2 separate regions of the Homo sapiens genome follow, and region 2 is linked to region 1. The links are contacts of gene promoters, found by promoter capture Hi-C in blood cells and fetal thymus (Javierre and others, 2016). All regions are on one chromosome and are shown on one strand. Each heading gives the region's core, a stretch centred on a gene start or on the middle of the fragment in contact. The rest is flanking DNA. Distances are from core to core; before and after follow the strand shown.

Region 1 (3,506 bases), core at 328-2,827:
TATAACAAAAAGCATGTCTATTCTTAAAGAGGGTCTTTTTTATTACTTGTATGGAAATGGGCCAAGGTTCTTGGACTCAAGAAAATTCCAGTATCTCTCCTTCACAGGAGACCAACAATAAATACCTGAGGGAATTATACCTAAAAATAATTTGAGTGCTGAACTGTGTTGTTCCACTATAGGAGTGGAAGTACAGTCAGCCATAACTCTAGCATTCCGTATGTGAAGATGAGGATAGGGTAAATTCTGAGACCCTAAACTTGTATTTTCTGTTTCCTCCAAATCTCTCTATGCCAGAAATCTATTTTCTTATGTCAACCATCAGCCCCACTACACTCCTCTTCAGTGGATTACAAAGTGGCTACAACTCACCAATTCAGTCCTGGTTCACTTATGACCATCTTGGAGCTCATCTTCCTAGATTTCTGCTTCACTCTAGCTCACAGTTCACAGCTGCCTGGCTGCGAAGGCTCCAAGAGGCAGGATCCCTCCAGAACTTACTCAGCTGAGTAAAAACAAAAGGCCAAGATCAAAAGCAAGTGATTGGCTAGGCCAGGTGCTATTAGGTGAGGAAGAATCTCTCCCTAAACATCTACCCTCAACAGACTGTGGCACCTAAAACAGAATACAGCAGACCCAAGGTTCTTTGTAGCAGAGCAGCAATGACGATACAGGACGAGCCCTTTTCCATTTAATCTACGCCGGGAGTGTTACTCTCAGGACACTCACTATGGAAATAAGAGCTGAAACAGAACGGTGTTCTCATTGCTTACATACTAGGCCACTTGATGGCATGGAACGGGAAGTCAACTCAGTTTTCCATTCCCTTACTGCCAAAATAAATCTTTTGTTTTCCCGACCATGCTTTGTTATGGGGCAGATTCTGGCAGGCACTTTATGACAAAAGCTACCTCGATATCAGGAATCTTAGGCCTTTCACAAAGAACCTCACATTTGAGAAGACTTGAGGTCAACTTAAGTGACATTTCACAAGATCACTTACAGACATCATCAGGACTACAAATCAGGCTTGATCTCTCATGTTCAGTACTTCTCCTGTGACCCCAGGCAGACTGATAAAGTGACCTGCGAGAACCTAATCAAATTTAGGAGTCGGTCTCTCGACACCGAACGGGCCCGACCGGCTCCCACTTAATCTACCTCTCACACTTCGACCCAGTGTGGAGCTGGGGGGGAATAGTCGAGGAAGGCAAAAGAAACGGCTGAGGGAAAGGGGACGCAAAGAGAGGGGAAACAAGGTTCCAGAAAAGCAGGTAAAAGGGCAAGCAAAGCAGGGGTAGGAGCCGCGCAGAGCCAGGAGCAAAGGGTCCTGGCCCGGCCGCCATGTTCCCTCCTCCCGCCCCTGCATGAGCACGCCCGCTGGCCCGGCAGCGCCCTCCCGTCCGCGTCTGGGCTGCAACACAGCCTTTCCGCCCACCTCATGGTCCGCGGCGGCTCTTGCCCAGGCCGCAGCCACACACCACACACGCTCCACCCCACTCCTCACATTGTCGCGCGCGCCCAAAAAAGACCATATTTAAAGGATGTGGCCGCGCCGACTCGGCCCTGCGTGATGACGTCTCAGCGACATAGTGGGCGGGGCCTTGCGTCTTGACGGCTGCTCCCCTCCTTTCCTCCCGCCACAAGCGCTCGCTGTGGTTCTGGCAGCGAAGTGCGAGACTGGGCTCGCCAGGCGGAAGTGGTTGGAGACTGCGTGTTTTCCTAGAAAGTCCTCGACCTTCGTCGGGGAGAGGAGGGGAGTGATAAATTGGAAGGCGGACAAGCGACAAGTGCGGTACTGGAAAGACCCAAACATACTTGGTTGTGACCTCAGGCAAGTTTCCTGACTTCCGTAACCCAAACTCCTCATATGTAAAATGGAGATGAAATTGTTACTGCTGCATCATACGGTTTTTTGGAAAGGATTAAATGAAACAAAGGAAGAAGCTGTGCTCTGCACAGTACCTGGCACATAGTAGGGCCTCATTAAGTGCTCCTTCACCTCCGCTCCACTCCCCATCCAGTTTTAGCTGTGAGTTCAAACACTAGTTTTGTTCTCATCCATTACGGAAAGATTTATTGACCGTAAACAGAGTACTTTGTGCTTGGTGCTGGGTACACATGGACTAAGACTGAATACTGATTTTTCCAGTGCTTTGGATCTCTGGCAATCTAAGACATTTACATTAAATACAATAGAAAGTAATAAACTACATAAGAAAGGTGTATAGATTGAGGTTAGAGGGAGAGGAATAGCTAGTGTGAGGGACAAAACGCAGTTTTGAATAGTATTGAGTACTTACATGTCAGTTGCTGCACTGAGCACCTGCCGTGTGAGCTCATTTGAAGAATGTGGGTATGTGGAATGAAGAGAAAGGGCGTTCTAGACAGACCAGCACAAGTGTCAAAAGACAAAAATTTGACACATCTAAAGATCTCAGTTGGCCTTATTGCGATTCTGGAATCAGGCAACACTTCATTCCATAAAATGGAATGAGTGTCCCAATGAGTGGAACAGAGGAGGTTGGCATTACGGACAGAAAAAAGGTCTGTAGAAAGTAGAAACAAAGAACAAAAAGCAGATTGATCATTTCAAAGTTACTTTCCTGGTAAGGTGGAGACAGACAGTACAATAGAAAGATAACTGATTGGTTAACATCAGGTTACTTCAAGTTACTCTTTGCTGTAGGGACTAAAACAGAGGAAATTCATTATCTTGCTGATTGAAAATTGAAACTGGCCTGTTACCTCTGTCTCCTGATTTCTTGGAGGGCCACATAACTCAGTTTCGGTGTGGTGAGCCTGAGTGATACCATTTTTATTTTAGTCTGGTCTCTTGGGGTCTAGTGCAGAAGTTCTAAACAATGGCCTCCTATAATTTTTTTTAATACAAGGAACTGCATAAACTTATTGCATAAACAGAATCTAGTGTGTGCTATTAGGGAAGCATGTTCTACATTTTATTTTAAGACAGAGTCTCCCAGACTGGAGTGCAGTGGTGTGATCTCAGCTCACTGCAACTTCTGCCACCTGGGTTCAAGCGATTCTCCTGCGTCAGTCTCCCTAGTAGCTGGGACTACAAGTGCATGCCACCACACTTGGCTAATTTTTGTATTTTTTTTTTAGTAGAGATGGGGTTTGCCAGGGTGATCTTTAACTCTTGACCTCAAGTGATCTGCCCACCTTGGCCTCCCTAAGTGCTGGGATTACAGGTGTGAGCCACTACCCCTGGCTGACATTTTAGACTGATTTAGAATATTGTTAGAAATTATGTTAATGTAAAAAATATGCTACAGGAAACCATAGGTAGTTTATTTTGCCTGGAATGCAAGGTCTCTGAAGAGTAGTAGAGGAAAAGGGGTTGGAAAAACTGGTTGAAGCTAGAACACGTAAGATTTTATAAGCCAGACTAAGGAAGTTTGACTTTATTGCATAAGAAATAAAATGCTAGGAAACAAACAAACAAAAAAGCTTACATAATGACACAATCAGAACTGGCTGGCTGT
Region 2 (3,506 bases), core at 311-2,810, 780 kb before region 1:
TTTAGAAAAACATGAATAAGCAATAGCCTCCAATTAGAAAAAAGCAGTTTGTTTGATTGATTGATAATTTTAGTAGTGATAATGTTTTTTAAATTATTTTTGGGGTGGGTAAGTGGAAGTAAGAATTGATCAACTAAAGCTAACTGTTTTGCGGTCAGTTTCAGTCTCCTTATCCAGATTAACACAAAATTAGATATAACACTGTCCTTCATCAAAGCATTAATCATTCATTCTGCATCTTTAGAGTCAAAGTGCAATCTTATTTGTTTAGAGAAAACAAATGCATTTCAAAATACACAAGTAATTGTTGGGTCAATTGGAAATTTTATTACATTTAACAAAACAAAGCACTGATATGGCTCTATGTAAGGCACATGCATTTTTATTTAATACAAATATAAAAATTAAAAGGTGGCATCTAATTCACTGTTGCAATGGGTAAATGTTCTACAAGTATATTTCCAAAAATAGTTTACATCCTAAAAGTAACTTACTCAGCTGAGAGAATCTAGGTTATTGTTTGTATTTTGAAACATGGGAACTCTGTAAATTGATAAAAATGTACTGAGTTTTAAAAATGAATTTCAGTATAACTGAGAAGAAAATATTAAAATTGTAACATTATTTCTCATTTATGTGGTTCCTTTATGATAAAGAAGGAGAAACACCTTCTCCTAATACAATTGCTAAAACACCAAATTGTACTTACTAGGAAAAAGAAGAAAGCTTTCCAATTTCAGGTATATACATAATAGGGAGAAATGAAATGCGAAGTTTAGTATGAATTATCTTCTTTAAAAGATCCTTAATATCTAACATCTAGATTCTTTTTTTTTAGTGGAATACTAATTCCTTAGCAGATTACTCATTTAATATGAATGATTTTAATGTAAGACATAAACACACACATACATGAATGAGATGCCATTCCATCTATATGCCTTGTGTGTAGTTTGAGGTATGGGGGCAGGATTTGAATCAGTAAGATGACTGATGCCTGAAATTACATTATTCATCTTTCCTTAATTAGCTTATGACACTGATCCATGTTAAAATGCAATTCTTTTTCATAGAAGGGCTCAACACATAAACCTTATGCTAAAATGGAAGGCGTGCGAACTTGGTTGGAGTTAGGAGAAGCATTTTAATTATTATTTTTCTATAGTCTCTGTGACCTTAGGCAAGTTACCTAACTTCCCCTGACATTGTTTCCTTATCATTAATTTCTGACGTACCTATGACTCATCTAAGTTAGCATTGTGCCTGAAGCTGAGATGATTATTTCCTTGATTTTTAGAAATTCACTAAAATGTTATGTGAATGTTTAAGTACAAGCATCTGAAAATTATATTTTACATGTCTATATTCTGTCTTTTCAAAAAATGGCATAACACAAGAAGACCATCCAAATATGTACATAATTCCACACCAGGTAATAGGAAAGATTTTAAAAATCTGAATATTTACAAAGTATTTTGGCATTTACAGTTTTCAGGTTTGCACAGTATAGGTGAAAGAGCCCTGAACTCAGAATCAGCAAATTTTCTTTAAAATTTCAATCCGACCATTGAATTTGTAGATCCTCCTCCCCCTACTCCCTCCCACTTCATTCCTATCTGCGTTACCTAAGACTAGAAACCAGGCAACAACATATGAAGAAACAGATGACAGTTTCAGGCATTCCCTTGAACTGATTGTTTTTTGTTTAAGTCCCATTCTGAAAATGCAGAATTCCTTCAAAGTTTTGTCTATAAGACTGCCTCTTCTTTTTTGTTCTTTTTTTTTTTTTTTTTTGAGACGGAGTCTCGCTGTGTTGCCCCAGCTGGAGTGCAATGGCGTGGTCTCTGCTCACTGCAACCTCTGCCTCCCAGGTTCAAGCAATTCTCCTACCCCAGCCTCCCGAGTAGCTGGGATTACAGGCCTGTGCCACCATGCCCGGTTAATTTTTGTATTTTTAGTAGAGACAGAGTTTCACCATGTTGGCCAGGATGGTCTTGGACTCCTGGCCTCAAGCGATCTGCCCGCCTCGGCCTCCCAAAGTCCTGGGATTACAGATGTGAGCCACCACGCCTGGCCAAGACTGCCTCTTCTTGTAATAGTTTTTGCTTCAGTTCCTTATCCAACCTGGTGGTATAGAGAACACATGCTGAAATGTAATCACTTGAAACTTGCTCTTTTTTTCATTTTAATAATTGTTTTTTGTGTTTTGACTATTAAAAAAACCACTCCCTAGCAAATGAATTTCTTGGCTCAGCTATATATATTTGTAAAGTATTAATAAAAACGTGTGTATTTTTAGGTTCTTCTAGCTAGGGTACAATATATTTCCGAAGGTGTCCTAGGGACCTCTTAAATAAGGAATCTTTTTGTTAAATTAACAAATCTATTCAAAATTAAGCTTCTTATTTCTGTTTATTTATTTTTTTTAAGTCACAGGTTGTGGTCTTCACTGCCCATCTTCTCCTACACCCTTATAAAATGGTTTGGTATTTCATTTTTGATCTAGGAAAGAATAATTCATTTTTATCTTCATTTAATTTTAATAGTCAAGGAGTAGTCTATAAAGATTGAATAAATTTAATCCTTCTGCAATTAGTGTCAAGTTAATTCATTCTGGATGTGAATAACTGAAGAAATACAGACCCTCCCACACACTGACAGACACCTTTATCAGGTGTAATGTTTTATGTAAATGATTCTACTTGAAAGGAAGTTGTCTTGTTTCTCCCTCCTCCCTTTCTGTCCTTGTTAATTGTTTTTAAACCTAAACTTTCTCTCCGCATTTTCTCAGGACTATAGTACCATTCACTGGATCAACTGTGTTGATCCTACAAAGGTAACACATTTTGCCGCTGATTTGACTCCTTTGCACAGAGAAATTCTTCAGTTTTTCCCCTCTCATAAAAGTTCACAACCATGTAACTTCTGTGGGTTGCTCCAGCAAGGATATGATCAGACCTCATGAGGATTAAAAGGATCTGGGTATGTCTCGTGTGCAGCAAGCAGATAGGATTATTGTAAGCAGCCTTTTGTCTCGCCCAACACGATCCATCTGAATCATCCCAGATTTGATCAACCCAGAGATGACTTCTCTGAGCCAGAATATTTTCCCTCCTATGGAGAAGCCAAGATACAAAAATCTATCAGGCAGGTTAACATCTAAAACACTTAAAATAACCTTTCTGCTTTTTTTCCATTAAAATCAACACTTGAGGTTATATAGCTGGTGTTCATATAGATTTTAAAATGAACCACCTTAATACATAAGGAATATAACAATCTAATATACTTTTAATTTCAGTGCAGCTATAAAGGCATACTGGCTATTACTAACATGACTCATCAAGTTTTTTTAAAAGATAATTTAGTTATCTCTTGTCAAGTCACTATTTAATGTTACTTTCTACATTTGCTGTGATAAGCATTAAAATCTATATATTGGTTGATAAATCATTGTTTAGGAGTGTCTAAAGGGTACAGTAAATGGTATGAAATTGCCATAGTGT

The links. Contacts are between HindIII fragments. The CHiCAGO score rates a contact against its expected background, and 5 or more counts as called.
Region 2: a contact is called between a fragment that was not itself captured here and the fragment with the promoter of ICE2 in region 1, in 3 of 17 cell types (fetal thymus, M2 macrophages and monocytes). The highest score is 5.8, in fetal thymus.

What each region holds. Positions count from the first base shown.
Region 1 is chr15:60,477,565-60,481,070 of GRCh38, forward strand. It overlaps ICE2 (interactor of little elongation complex ELL subunit 2), which reads right to left and starts at 1,578. Exons shown (of 16, transcript NM_024611.6): 1 at 1,439-1,578; 2 at 373-505. The coding sequence starts at 413. RORA-AS1 (RORA antisense RNA 1) reads left to right here and starts at 1,614. Exons shown (of 6, transcript NR_120342.1): 1 at 1,614-1,834. RefSeq lists enhancers at 410-529, 852-1,379. The HindIII fragment of the contact is 13,398 bases long and covers 1-3,469 here.
Region 2 is chr15:59,699,066-59,702,571 of GRCh38, forward strand. No RefSeq gene overlaps it. Among named protein-coding and RNA genes, the nearest start is that of BNIP2, 11 kb to the left of the region's middle. The HindIII fragment of the contact is 1,672 bases long and covers 725-2,396 here.